Regions from separate parts of the Homo sapiens genome. Here all the other regions are linked to region 1. The links are contacts of gene promoters, found by promoter capture Hi-C in blood cells and fetal thymus (Javierre and others, 2016). All regions are on one chromosome and are shown on one strand. Each heading gives the region's core, a stretch centred on a gene start or on the middle of the fragment in contact. The rest is flanking DNA. Distances are from core to core; before and after follow the strand shown. Region 1 holds the start of UCHL1 (ubiquitin C-terminal hydrolase L1). Region 2 has its middle 4.2 kb from the start of DCAF4L1. Region 3 has its middle 56 kb from the start of LINC00682.

Region 1 (4,992 bases), core at 1,143-3,642:
CCTACTTCTTCTTCTTCTTCTTTTTTTTTTTTTTAAAAAAGATTAGGCTTAGGTTTGTTCATATCCAGTCTCTGGCATCTCTTTGTAAGCAGGGAGTTGTTTCATTCACTGCTCTGATGCTTCCTGGCAAACAGTAGGCCATATATGTATATGAATGTGAATGAATTAATGCCTTCAACAAATATTTCTGACAGTGATTTCATGACTGCTTTTATTAGTTATTTTGGCAATCACTTATAACTGCTAACGTCTGCTTGCCGATCAGCCCTTAGCTTAAATGTCACTTCCTTCAGGACGCCTTCCTGATCCCCTCCACTAGGTTAGGTGCTCCTGATCTCTGCTCCCTTTCATACAACTCTTATGACTGATAAAAACAGCACGAGGGGGCCAGGCGCGGTGGCTCACGCCTGTAATCCCAGCACTTTGGGAGGCCGAGACGGGCGGATCACGAGGTCAGCAGATGAGACCATCCTGGCTAACACGGTGAAACCCCGTCTCTACTAAAAATACAAAAAAAATTAGCCGGGTGTGGTGGCGGGCGCCTGTAGTCCCAGCTACTCCGGAGGCTGAGGCAGGAGAATGGCGTGAACCGGGGAGGCGGAGCTTGCAGTGAGCCGAGATCGCGCCACTGCACTCCAGCTTGGGCGACAGAGCGAGACTCCGTCTCAAAACAAAACAAACAAAACAAACAAACAAAAAAACGGCATGAGGGAAATTTCCATGTTTATTGTGTTCATCTTTGTATGCCTAATTCCAAACTTTCCAAGCTCGGCACCCAGCACACAGTAGGTTCTTAATATTTGTTGAGTGAATGAATAAATGAAGTAAATTGGAAATGTAATTTGTCTTTGTCTAAAGGCAAGAACTCATTCAATATAACCTAGTCACTTGTCTTGACCTTCACCTCTTTTTTTCTTTAACAACCTTATTGAGGGAAAATTTACATACCATAAGATTCACCCATTAAGCTCCTCTTACTAATTTTTTTCTCTCTCATTTTTGTGTGTGAAGGTCATTTTCTAATGGCAAAAATGGAAAGAAAATAGAAGTAGAATGTTGTGGAATCTTAGATAAAGAATGGGCTCTTGGAGCCCAGTTTAGCAGGGTTTACTTCTCAGTTTTACTTTTCAATTGTGACCGTAAGCAAATTAACTTCTCTAGGCCTGGGATTCTGATCTGTAAAATTGCACTAATATGAGTCTCTTCACGGCTCCTCTAAGGATTAAATGAGAGACACATGCAAAGGATCCCCAAAAACAATAACTCAAAAAATGTTGATTCCCTCCCTTCCCTCTGTCATCTGTTAACCTCAACTTCCTAAATAGAAGGTCTATTCTTTTACCATCATCATTATTCTCTTCGGTGCCTATTTTTAAAAAATACTCAACCTTCTTGCTTCCTTCGCTACCTAAGTATTTCTGCAAGCCCACTTTGTTCTGCAGCTTAGCTTTCCTGGCACAATTCTTATAGATTTTGGTCCCTTTTAAAATTCATTCTTCAGCAAATGCTTTCTCTCTCCATCTTTTGACTAGAGATCATTAGAGATCACCTGAGATCATTAGAGAACAGTGGTTTCCTTGGTTGCCATTCCCTTTCTTCTTCATTGGGAGTATTCTGCGGTGAACTCAGACATTTTATTTTTCAAAGCTTCCCATTCTTTTAAAAATGCTTTTCCTTTTACAGCCTCTCGCTCAAAATCATACCCATCTTTTCCCTGGATCTGTTTTCTCAAGTCTCCAATCGCCTGCCTTCTTTGTGTCTTGTATTACCCTCACATCCCCCAGCTTTCTACTGCTCTCCCAGGACCAACCATTTCTTCCGCGGGAGTCACATTACATCAGCATTCCTAATGCAGTATCTGTTATCTACCAGATTCTGTTTTATTCTAGGTAGTCACTTAAAAACGAACCTCGGTACTGGTCTGACTTAACATGGAGGAGGAATTGTCTAAGGTTAAACGCAAACTGCTGAGAGATTTGGGGCGGGGGGCACACATTTACATTCATTCGTATTAAATATATACCTGTTGAATTTGTGCTTTTTCTCAAATGCTTCAGAGACTCGAGCTTTAGAGTAATTGGGATGGTGAAAGGATGGGTTTCCAGAAACTTCGCCCAAAATTAAAGACTCCATCAAAAGGACTGCTCCATACACTCAAGGAACACCCACCAACAAATCCCGTCTCCACAACCACCAGATTATCTCACCGGCGAGTGAGACTGCAAGGTTTGGGGGCCCGGCCGTACCACTCCGCGCTGCGCACGGGGGGTTCGTACCCATCTGGCCGCGACCGTCCGTTTCCCCCTCGCTTGGTTCTGCCCCTGCTCCCCCTGCACAGGCCTCACAGTGCGTCTGGCCGGCGCTTTATAGCTGCAGCCTGGGCGGCTCCGCTAGCTGTTTTTCGTCTTCCCTAGGCTATTTCTGCCGGGCGCTCCGCGAAGATGCAGCTCAAGCCGATGGAGATCAACCCCGAGGTGAGCGCCAGGTGCACCGCTACCCGGAGAGCGCGAGGCCGAGGGAGGGGGAGCCGAGTCGCTGATCGGTTCGGTTTTGCCTTTTTCTTTGCATTTGCCTTTCAGATGCTGAACAAAGTGAGTGGCGTCTCGCGCCGTCTCTGGCCCCCTCCCCCGCGAGCGCCGAGGCGGGGGCGCCCACCGGTTCCGGCTGCTGGCAGGGACCAAGCCGCCCGCTGCGAGCACCGGAGACGGCCGGGCTGGGGCGTGGGCTGGGCGCCTTTCCTGGGCCCCTGCATTTAGCGGGTGACTCTACGAAACCGGTCACGGGGAGACGGAGGGGGCTGCGCCCCGTGGCGAGCGAGCGCCAGGCGGAGCTCCCGAGGGCGTGGCGCGGGCAGCACAGACTCGGCTGCACGGGCTTCGCGGGCGCCACGTGTGGGCCGCGCTTTGTGCTGTGTCATTGCGCCGGCCCGGGTGGGGGTGGCAGGGCGGGACTGGGGCTCCTCCCAGGCTCGGGTGCGGGCGCGGAGGGCGCGCGCCTCCTGGCCCCGCCCCCTGGCAGGTGCCCGCGACCCGCGTGTCCCCGTGCGCCTGGCCGCCTTGTCTCCTCTCCGCAGGTGCTGTCCCGGCTGGGGGTCGCCGGCCAGTGGCGCTTCGTGGACGTGCTGGGGCTGGAAGAGGAGTCTCTGGGCTCGGTGCCAGCGCCTGCCTGCGCGCTGCTGCTGCTGTTTCCCCTCACGGCCCAGGTAGGGCGTGGGGCCCAGGATGCGCCGGCCGCCGGCAGTGCACGCCGCTCCCCAGCTTGAGTCCTCGGGGGCTCCCCGCCCCGCCCCCTCCCCTGTAGGTGATGCGGGGCGCGCCTACAAGGAAGGGAGGAGCCTGCATTTTCGTGGTACCTACTCCCTGGGCTCCTGTTCCAGCGGTGCCTGTCGCCTTCTTGCCCATCCGTCCACAATTGCCTTAAATTTGGAAGAGAGGCAGTATCTCAGTTCCATCTATCCCGTTATCCAGGGAAATCATTCATCCTACTCATGAGTTCCCTCGAACTTGGGCTTTTTCGAGCCTCCGGTTCCGGGGAATGGCTGCTGGTTTCCCTTTAAGGGCTATAACCTGTCAACTCATTGTTTGCTTCTCAGACTCCCACCTAGCTGTAGAATGGAGGGGGAAGGGCTGACCTAAATCGCAGGGAAACAATTAGGTTCGCTAATTCTCCGCCTCCATTACTTGGGTTTCTGATGGTCTTAAGGGGTTCTTCTCTCTTCTCCACTCCCACCACTTGCACACTTGGTTTTTAGCCTCTTGAATGTATTTCTTAAAGCTTAATCATTTTGTGTATGGTTTCTGTGTGGGAACCTCCTTCCTCTTCACTTATCCTTGTTCATCTCTGACCTTGTAGCTAACTGAAATAGGGGGTTATTAGCTCAGTTTTGAAAGCACCTTTGCATTTCCCTTGAAATGATTTTCCTCCTACAAGTGTGCATGGATAGATGTATCTGAAAGACAGCGTCAGATTTTTTTTTTTAAAGGATAGCTAGGATATTTGCAGTCTTGTGATGTATGGAATCCCAGTCATTAGCGCATGGCATTGTCTTATCTCCTATTGCTGTCACTTGACCGCTGATGTGGGAGTGACTGAAATTAGCTTTAGCAAAACTTGGGGCATCACTCTAAAGAGTGAGGTTAACTGAAGCACCGTCCTAAGGCTAGGTGTTCTGGAAGCATCTGTAGCCAAAATCAAGAGTATGGGAAGTTCCAAGCCTTCCTCCTAGTAAGTAAGCTAAGTATTGTGGGTAAAAACACTTATTTACAGCTAATAAGATGATCTCACTGACATGTTTTTATTGCTAAAGTCTTTTACTTGGGCTAAAAGGAAGATGCCAAATTGTTGGAAGTCGAATTAGCTTCCTGGTTGACCAAATCAGTCTCCTGTCTCCAGTTGAGCATCACACAGAGGTTTTTTATTAGAGCAACCATGATGACTCGGAGGTTTTGAGCAGCATTCAGAGGCAAGGCCTCTGGGAGGCAGTGGTGCAGCATGTTTGCCTTTAAAAGCTGACTGTTCTCCTTTTGCTGAATCTTGTTTAGAGAACATTCTAGTTTGTGTTATGTTTGAAAGAGCTCGATACTTTGTCCTTTAGTTTCAATTCAACCTATCAGATTTATCGAGCGCCTATTCTGCTACACAGAATGCCTACTGGACAAAACACTGAAGCCGATTGAAAGAAAAGTTGAGGTTTTATAGGTTGACTCCAAAGATGCTAATGTTAATTTGGAAGGCATTTAATTTTTGACTAAGGGAATGTTATGACCCCCTACATGGACCACTTCTGAAACATTAAGTGCTAGTAGACTATTTACAGAATGATTTCCATGGAAGAGCTCAAGCAGCCCTAAAGGATGGTGCTATCCCATTTTAACATTTCATCTAATTAGCCTAGAAAATGAAAAACACTTACTGGTCAATGAATACTAAGTTGAGGATCCAGTTAGATAGAAGCGAAAAAGTTCTGCTAGTTGGAGTTTAAGTTGATCTTCT
Region 2 (4,992 bases), core at 724-3,223, 720 kb after region 1:
AAACAGAAACAAAAAACAAACAAACAAACAAACAAATCTAACATATATCCACAATCAGATTCTCTCTTCACCCAGCTCAATTATCACTGTGAATAAACAACCTTCATGTCTTACCTCGATTATTCCAGTAGCTTCCTCACTTTTCTCTTCTGCTTTTGCCTGCCTCTCCCCAATTTGTCTTGATACAGCAACCACAATAATTCTGTTAAATCATACATCAGAATATGTCTCCTTTGCACAAAACCCTTCTGTGGCTTCTACTCTCAGAGCTCTTGCAGTGACCAACAAACGCCTCTTGATCACACTTCTTGTTCCTCATCTCCTACTACTTATTCCCTCATTTGCTGTGTTCCAGCCACACTGGCTTTTTGCTCTTTTTTGAATTTGCCAAGTACAAAAGTACTCCTCCTACCTAGAATGTTGTCTTAGATATCAATTTGACTCATTCCTTTACCTCCTTCAGATCTTTATTCAAATGTCACCTTGGTGAGTCCTCTCCTCACCTCCCTATTTAAATATACTACACCCACTTCCACACTGACATTTCTTTTTTCCTGCTTGATTTTTCTCTATAGTACTTATTGCCATATAGTGCCTATCATAATGCACATAGCATTATCACACATTTGTTTATTTTGTTTCTCATTTGTGTCCCCACCAGAGTGTAAGCTTCATTAGGACAAGAATCATTTTTTGTTTTATTCATTGTTAAAAACCAGTTCCTGGAACGTAGTAGGCACTCAATAAATACACATTGAATGCTTGAAACAAAACTTACTCTAGTTAAACAGAAGAAGAATTTTTTTTAAAAGGATATTAGGTATTTAAAAGTCTGGATGGAGTAGGGAATCAGGCTTGGAAGCTGTCTAACCAGGAATAATGCAGTTTCCATTGGGAACAGTCACCACTATTACTGGGACACTCCCCTGGACGTGTGTCCTTACCACCTCCACTGGTTGTATTTTGCCTTACGCCTCTTCCCTTGCAGAATATGTTCCTTGAGATGCCTTACTTTTCCCATTACTTTATTTCAAATTGTAGCTTCTCATAGATGTTCTGATGGTTGGTTGGTGGTTTGTCACATGCGTGGGCCCTTGCTCCAAAGGAGCCCAGGAGAGCAAGTTCCAGCCTTCTACTTTGGGGAGGTAGGCTCACAGGTAGGACATTCCCCAGATATTGGAAGTATGTTCAAAATATGCTGTGCAGTCACAAAATATAAATGCTCTTCACTGGCACTGAGTGCTATCATTAAAAAAAAAATCTAGCTCAGGAGACCTGAAGTTATTTTAAAATTGTATGTGTAATCCAGAATCCATTTCCCATAGCAATTGTTAAACAATGTCTGCTTTCAAATTTATTATTCTTCATTCCTGACCTTGTTCTAAGCTTAACCAATCACATATTTTCTCATTTGACATCCCAGTGATTAATAGCTGAAACCCATTGCCTGGAGAATGGTTTCCATTGTGATGTGGTACTCCTTGGGTGGAGAGTGGGATGAACAGGCAACAGAATGCTTTGTTTATGGAAAAGGAATAAGAGTGTGAGTCCATTATCAGAAAATGCAGCAAGGGTGTAAAATATTGGGCTGCCATGTTAGAGCTCACCTGTTACCATAAAAACCTCTGTACTCAGCAGCTGGGTCAGTGGGAAGCCTGCTGCCCAGTTCGAATGGTATATTGAATTATATGACCAGTCTTGGCATCAGTTTAACATATTTTTAAGTAACTTTTATTTTTTCTTCCTTTCTTTTAGTTCCTTTTTTTTTTCTTGCAAGTAGGAAGCAGGAATGACTGTTCAATTATTAGATATTCAAGTTTAGAATTCACTGTCATTACTGCACAATTCATTTGCTGAAATAACAAGTAGCAGATGCTACAGTGCAAGTTAATGAATAATTCTTATTTGTACTCTGGCCTTTCATTGCAATTCATTTGTTACAGACATGTGGGTTTAGTAATTATTATTCTCACACTTTCTAAAATGTTTTTAGCTTTTTAAAAAGCATTTTGCTCATTTTTTTATTTCCTTCTGTTTGTTTCATTCTATTTATTAAATTCTCCCATTTATCCCAATTGTTTGGGAAGTCTCATGGCTCTTTATGGTTCTCTTCTGAGAGGAATATGAAATACTTCAATTGATTTGTTCCTTATTGCAAATAAGCCAAAGCCATGGCTCATTTACCATTACCGGGTTTGTTTACCATTTCACAGGCACACTTGAGGCCTCAGCTTTCAAGGGCATGTTTTCAGCCTGTTACAAACCATGCTTGGCCTTCCTTCTCTAAAGTCTGCTCCTTCCTAACCAGGAAACAGGGCAGGAATGGAATTTTCTTCCCATTCCAGTTTCTCTTTAGCTGCTTGTGTCCAGAAGTTGATATGGCATAGCTAAAATTAATACCTGAATTGACCCAGTTCACCTTCTGTTTTAGAAACAACAACAACAAAAAAATTGGCTAAAAAGTAAAGGCCTGGGTATTTTTAGAAAGAGCAATAATTAGTGTAAAATGTCACAGAAATATAATACGTTTAGATTCATGTCAGACAAAAGTTATTTCCAGGAAGCTTCTCAAAGACAAGAAAAGGGATGTTGGAGATATTGGGAAAAAGTATAGTGAAATTGGTAAGAATAAATAAGCTGCAGTGAAGCCTATCTGAAGCATTTGGAATATGACTTTGCAAGAGGCTCAGAATAGAATAGAGTAGGAATCTATCCCTGTTTATCTTTTTACCTCCCTATCCGTCTTGTATAGATATTGGAGTAAAAAGATGAGGAATGTTGCCTCTTGTTCCTCTCTCTGTGACTCACAACAGTGATGCTAAAGTGAGGAAGTGGCTTCAGACATGAACAGAGGTGGGGGATGGGAAAAACGGTCAGTATTAAGAGGCATGTGGCATGTGTGAAGATTTAGGAATTTAAAACACACACACACATGGTGGAAGCTGGTAAGCCTTGCCTTTTATACACAGTTCTGAATTTTAACTCTGAGGAGAGGAGTTTTTTGGGGTATAATTCTCTGTCGTAAGAGGCTGCCCTATGTGTTGTAGGATGTTTAGCAGCATCTCCAGCCTCAACCCACTCGATGCCAGTAGTATCCAGTTGTGACAGCTAAAAATGTCTCCAGATATTGCCAACAGTTGTCCCAGGATGAGAACCACTGCTGCAAAGGTCACACGATGTGGTTGGGCAGGGTGAGTATGGGACCTTGAGCTGGGGTAAGACCTGAGGGGCAGAGTTGTGAGAGTTATGGGGAACGTTTCCAATTTCTTCTATGGAGAAATGGGAAGAGATGGTGGATGAAGGAAATGGAGTGGCATGGTGGGAATGGAGTATGTAAATTCCTAAAAGAGAAGGAAAGAATCCTAAAGGCTGAAATAATTTTTTAAGACAGTAGATAAAAAGTCATGTAGCATTTAAGGAGACTTATTTTTTCTAGAAGGTTGATTTATATGTTTATTGAGAGGGAAGGAAAGTTAGTTAATCAGAAAAGAAGGGGGAGGTGGGGATGGTAAATGAGTTAAAAAAAAAAAAAAGTTAAATAATGAATAGGACTGGCCAGGCGTGGTGGCTCATGCCTGTAATCCCAGCACTTTGGGAGGCCGAGGCAGGCGGATCACAAGGTCAGGAGTTCGAGACCAGTGTGTCCAATATGGTGAAACCCCATCTCTATTAAAAATACAAAAATTAGCCTGGCATGGTAGCGGGAGCCTGTAGTCCCAGCTACTCGGGAGGCTGAGGCAGGAGAATCACTTGAACCCAGGAAGCAGAGGTTACAATGAGCCGAGATCGCACGACTGCACTCCAGCCTGAGCAACAGAGCAAGACACACACACACACAAAAAAAAACACAAAACACAAAAAACGAATAGGACCTACTATTTGATAGCACAACGGGGTGATCATGGTCAATAGTAACTTAATTGTATGTTTTAAAATAACTTAAAGAGTGTAATTGGATTGTTTGTAACTCAAAGGATAAATGGTTAAGGGAATGGATACCCCATTTACCCTGATGTGCTTATTTCACATTACATGCCTGTATCAAAACATCTCGTGTACCCCATAAATATATACACCTACTATATATCCACGGGAATTAAAAATTGAAAAAAAGAAGTGGAAATAGATTGAAAGCTCTCCCTGTAGAGTAGAAGTTGGATAGATTTTGCAGAAATAACCTTAATCCCTTATTCCTCTCAGTGAAGGAGCCTATGAAATAAAGGAGAATTAAACATGTAGTTCTTATAATTTTCATTCCTTCATTCACTTATCTATATCCTATGTCCCATGTACTATATTATACACTAGACAGTAAGGATAGAAAGATGGATAAGAAACAATCCCTGTCTAAAGATGTCCACAGTATACTAGGGTAGACAAAGATGTGTAATCAGTTTGATTGAGAATCTCACCTCAAGAGGCATAAGCTTGAAAGTCTCATCATTTCTACACTTGGTATTTTGTCAGATTTCATTGCTTCAAAGTATCAGCCTCCTTAGTTATTAAAACTTTCATTCTAGGTATTAAGATTAGGTCCTACTGATTTAAAATATTAGTCTCATATTTATTTCAAAAACTTCCTCCATGCCTTCCAGAGCAGACTAGACCCGTAGTTCCAACTTTCTTTATACACACCCCTTTTTTTCCATGTGCCTGCTCTTCCGATGGTGGGGTCAGGAGGTTTAAGAAGGAAAACAGGCAATGCCTTAAATGTCTGACTGCCGCCATGTTGCTATCTGCTTTCTGTAGGTCATTGTTAGAATATATGGGGTTCCTAACAGCCCCACTGATAACTCAGTATCAAGCAGTCCTCTATGCTTTGATAGCCCTTTGCAAGACTTCTGCATCTGTCAGCTGACTTCCATTTGGCAGTGGTGAAACACATTCTTCTGATACATAGAAATCCCTTGTCCCATGTTATGTTCCATGGCAAGTGTGTGGGCCTCAATCTCCTGTGCTCTCTGTGATCCCAGCTCTGGGGCCTGTAGATTC
Region 3 (4,992 bases), core at 1,632-4,131, 570 kb after region 1:
GCATAAATAAGCCTATTAATGGCAACTTTGACCTGTCAAGCAATAACCAAATGATTTGTGTGCCTGCTGGATTGTCTGGTGATTTTTGCTTTAAAGGGCAGTATGTGAGTATTATTATCACAATTCCCTTGCATACTTTTGCTTCTTCTTCCCCTGCCTCTTAAAGATAGAAAAGATAGATAGAACATTTAAAGATGTAGAGATAAAGGGCAACTCATTTTAGACTGGTAAGACTGGGAGGTGATATCATTTCCAACAAAAGGTGGGAGGCAAGGAAGAATTTAAAACCCAGAGGCAGAAAGCAAAATCAAAATAAGTTCCCAGAACTCTCCCTATCCCACAACTACCACTACCAAAGGGCCTTCCAGTGCAGCTTCATTGTTTTCTCTGGACTTGTATGAATTTGCAGATCATTAGACTGCTCCAGGAAGATCTTTTAAAACAATCATTATGCGTAATTTTTCATTTGAGTTTATTGGAGCCACAACTCATCGCCATGAGACCCAGTGACCTGAACAGGAAAATAGTCTTAAGGACTGCTTTATTTCTTCAGAGCCTATAGGGTAGGACTCAATAAATATCTAAATTAATAATGAATCAATTGATTAATTAATGGATATAGAAACTCACTGTTAGGAGAGGTTGGCTGGAGGTAGCAGAAATCAAAATAACAGTGAGAACCAAGGAAAAGTTGACTTCACGCTCATGTAAAAGAATTCTGGAGGCCAACAATATGAGGCTGATATAGACAGCAGTTCCAGTTCCATGATGTCTTCCAAGACACAGGCTTTTGTCTTTCTGCAGCTATTCTCAGAGTGTGGTTTGTACCCTCATGATTTAGGACTGCAACCATCACATCCAAGTTGAAGATAGGAAGGCAGAGAGGTAGAAGGTGAGACCCTTTAATCTGAGGTAGCTACTGTTCAGCATCCTGGAAGGTCCCACAACAATTCCACTTACGCTGGCACCTAAATTGTAGTCATACAGCCACACCTATCTTCAAGAAGGAATTGGAAATGTTATCTTTTGTCTAAGCCTGGAATTCACGTTCTAATACTAAGGAAAGTAAAATACATATTGTATTAGGCAATAGCAATATCTACTACATTAGATTTGTAAAGGAATAGAGCTTTGTAAAGGAAATAGAGATTTGTAAAGGAAAACGAATTGATTCCTTCATCTAGCCTGATTATTCATTTCTTCCACATACCTGTCTGGTGTAGAAGAGAAAGGGGCAAATAGTTTTCTTAAGCATAAATGTCAAAGACATTGAATAATAACATAGTGTTTCTTTGTGTCAAGCAGTGTTCTAAGTACTTTACATATATTAATTCACTTAATCCTAACAACAACCTTATGAAAATGGTGCTTTTATTATCATCATGTCACAGTTAAGACTTTAAGACACAGAGAGGTTAAGTGATTTGCCCAGGGTCACACAGCTAATAAGTGTCAGAGTCAGGATCAAACCCAGGCAGTCTGACTCTTAATCAACTAATCAACTGATCAAAACAAGGAATGAGCAGTTTAGCATAAAGTTAAAGATCAAATTTTTAGACTTTCCCAAAAAGCAATGTCTTAATCAAAACGAGATGAAGCACAACTCAGGAATTAGACTTCAATCCTCTCCTCTTACCCTCCATTTTATAGTTAACATGTTCTTAACTTAAAGTTCCTAAAATGCTAAAATGTTTGTATCATGTTTTCATTTGTGGTAGATAATTCAAAGGAATAGGTGTTAGGAAAACTTAAAAACACTTTTTGGATGAAATAACTCAAAATATAATTTTGTTCTCCTCCTGGTTATAGCCATACACTTACACATCTCAAAGCAAAATATGTAATGGTCAATTCCAAGTCCTAAAGGCCCACTATGCTAATGGCTCACAGCTAAATGAGCTGCAATTTCAAGTAGTTACATTGTAGTTTCTCCCTCCTTTCCTGCTCACATCTTCTCCCCAGGCAAACAGATGGACCCACTGTCCCCTGAACAAACCTGCAGGGTTTTTTTAAAAAATCTGTTATTTGATTGATTTTGCCTCCATCTTGGAATGCCTTCCCCACTGCCCTCTGCCTGTGTGAACAATCTTTGTCTTTCAAGATCAGCTCAAATCTGACCACAAAACTCTTTACCCACCCACTTGCTCCTCCTCCAGGGCTCCTCACATCAGTAAATGCCACCATCATACAGTTAGTTTGTTCCCTGGTCTCCACCCTCCCGTGATCTCCTGCACAAAGCCCTATTAAACTTCAAATGTGTCATGAATCTGTTCCCCTCTCTTATCTCTACAGCAATCACCTTCCCCAAGTTACTGCAATAAACTTTCTAAACTTGTCTCTCCACTTACATCCTCAGTCTTTGGGTTCCCTATTAATCTATTGTTTCTCACTTTCTATGTCTAATTTGTTTGCTAGGGCTAGGGCTCTGCAAACTGCATTTCTGCTTTGCCGTTGTACTAGTAGGGGGCTCCAAAGGGAGCCGTGAAGGAAGAAGATGGGAAGAGCCTTACTCCTCGCTGCTTGCTTGCTGCTCCTGCCAGCATGACCATATGATGAGGGGACCACCAGGAGTGAGGGTTTCAGTAACCATTGGTTCCAGTTTCCAGATTTTTTCCCCACCATCCCAGAACTGGGCTCATTACACTAGCTCAGAGGTACTAGCACTAGCTGGGAATGCCCTGTCTTCAGAGATCTAGGTCCACTTCTGCAGGGCTCCTCTGAACTCTTAAGATACCAACACTAACTTGATGGTGAGTGTCTGTTCTCAGGGTTAGAGTCCCAGCTCCACGAGGCCACCAAGCTTCTAAGTTCTTATAACCCCAACCTCTTTCCTGTGTTCCCTCAACCTTAGTAGTGGTAGTTGTCTCCCAAAGTTACTATGCTGTTAGGAGGGACCTTCAAATAGTTCATGGAAAATGTAATTAAAAGATCAAAATAAAAAATATAAACTTTCTTTCTTAACAAAAGCTTCATCAAGTTCAAGACACTTTTCAAAGCCAAGACACCAGCTACTTAGCCCATTCCTAAGTAACTGAGGGTCCTGGGAATTTAACCATGTCAGTACAGTCTTTTTTACATTACTAATTGAAGAAAAATGGGTGTCCTTTAAAGATTTTTTAAGATTAGGAAACCAAAAGAAGTCAGAAGGAGCCAAATCAGGACTGTAAGTAGGATGCCTAATGATTTCCCATCAAAACTCTCAAAAAAATTGCCTCTGTTTGATGAGAGGAATGAGCAAGAGATTGACATGGTGGAGAAGGATTCCGGTGACGCTTTCCCAGGTGTTTTTCTGCTAAAGCTTTGGCTAACTTCCTCAAAACACTCTCATAATAAGCAGATGTAATTGTTGTTTGGCCCTCCGGAAAGCCAACAAGCAAAATGCCTTGAGCCTCCCAAAAAACTCTTGCCATGACCTTTGCTCTTGACCAGTCCACTTTTGTCCTGATGGGACCACTTCCACCTCTTGGTAGCCATTGCTTTGATTGTGCTTTGTCTTCAGTATCTTACTGGTAGGGCCACGTTTCATCTCCTGTTAGAATTCTTCAAAGAAATGCTTCAGGATCTTGATCCCACTTGTTTAAAATTTTCATTGAAAGCTCTGTTCTTGACTGCAGCTGATCTGGGTGCATTAGTTTTGGCAACCATTGAATGGGAAGTTTACTCAGCTTTAATATTTCAGTCAGAATTGTGTAAGCTGAACAAATTGAGATGTCCATGGTGTTAGCTATTGTTCCTGCTGTTAATCATCAGTCCTCTTCCATTAGGGCACAAACAAGATTAATTTTTTCCTTGTAAATGGATGTCGCTGGTCTGCTGGGAGGGACTTCATCTTCAACATCATCTCATCCCTTCTTAAGAAAAGTTATCGGCCGGGCATGGTGGCTTACTCCTGTAATCCCAGCACTTTGGGAGGCCGAGGAGGGTGGATCATGAGGTCAGGAGTTCAAGACCAGCCTTGCCAACATAGTGAAACCAGATCTCTACTAAAAATAAAATAATTAGCCGGGCGTGGTGGCAGGCGCCTGTAATCCCAGCTACTCGGGAGGCTGAGGGAGGAGAATCGCTTGAATCCGGGAGGCAAAGGTTGCAGTAACCTGAGATCACACCATTGCACTCCAGCCCAGGCAACAGTGTGAGACTCCGTCTCAAAAAAAAAAAAAGTTATCCTCGGCCAGGAGAGGTGGCTCATGCCTGTAATCCCAGCACTTTTGGAGACCGAGGCGAGCTGATCACCTGAGGTTGGGAGTTCATGACTAGCCTGACCAACATGGAGAAACCCCATCTCTACTAAAAAAATACAAAATTAACTGGGCGTGGTGGTGCATGCCTGTAATCCCAGCTCTTCGGGAGGCTGAGACAGGAGAATCGCTTGAACCTGGGAGGTGGAGGTTGCAGTGAGCCGAGATCACCCCACTGCACTCCAGCCTGGGCAACAAGAGCAAAACTCTGTCTCAAAAAAAAAAAAAAAAAAAAAAGTTATCCTCCTTCATATCTGGAGGATATTTTTTAAGTTATCCATTTCAAACGGCTGATATCTTTGGTGTATTGTCCCCATAAACTTTTTATGAAGCATTCGTGATTTCACCATTTTTCCACCCAAGCTTCACCTTACATTTAATGTTTGCTCTTGCTTCAATTTTAGCAGAATTCATGTTGCTCTGATAAGGAATTTTTTTAAACTGATGTCTTATCCTTCTTAATGCCTCAAACTAGATGCTGTTCAGACATAACAAATGAGTATGGATTTTTCTGGTGCAAAAATATTTTGAAATCCAGGCACAGTTTTTTCATAATATGCATTTTTCATAAAGTTGTTGAAGACCCCTCAAATTATCATTATTGCCTCTTTTTTGATCTAATACTTGTACAACCAACTGCTTATATTAAATTCTCACTGTTAAACTTACTGGCGTGGTTTCTGATTTCTTGACTGGATCTCCACAGATACATCCTTCTTGGATCCATTGTCATGGCAGCCAGTGTGATCTTTTG

Evidence for each region. The method cuts DNA at HindIII sites, captures the fragments that hold promoters and counts their contacts. A CHiCAGO score of 5 or more calls a contact.
Region 2: a contact is called between a fragment that was not itself captured here and the fragment with the promoter of UCHL1 in region 1, in 1 of 17 cell types (M0 macrophages). The highest score is 5.1, in M0 macrophages.
Region 3: a fragment that was not itself captured here is called in contact with the fragment with the promoter of UCHL1 in region 1 in 1 of 17 cell types (naive B cells); the score reaches 5.4 in naive B cells.

Annotation. Positions count from the first base shown.
Region 1 is chr4:41,254,536-41,259,527 of GRCh38, forward strand. It overlaps UCHL1 (ubiquitin C-terminal hydrolase L1), which reads left to right and starts at 2,393. Exons shown (of 9, transcript NM_004181.5): 1 at 2,393-2,474; 2 at 2,580-2,591; 3 at 3,074-3,202. The coding sequence starts at 2,442. It overlaps UCHL1-DT (UCHL1 divergent transcript), which reads right to left and starts at 2,192. Exons shown (of 3, transcript NR_102709.1): 1 at 2,024-2,192. RefSeq lists a silencer at 2,509-3,268 and an enhancer at 3,103-3,603. The HindIII fragment of the contact is 2,127 bases long and covers 1,646-3,772 here.
Region 2 is chr4:41,975,087-41,980,078 of GRCh38, forward strand. No RefSeq gene overlaps it. Among named protein-coding and RNA genes, the nearest start is that of DCAF4L1, 4.2 kb to the right of the region's middle. The HindIII fragment of the contact is 1,178 bases long and covers 1,385-2,562 here.
Region 3 is chr4:41,824,053-41,829,044 of GRCh38, forward strand. No RefSeq gene overlaps it. Among named protein-coding and RNA genes, the nearest start is that of LINC00682, 56 kb to the right of the region's middle. The HindIII fragment of the contact is 167 bases long and covers 2,799-2,965 here.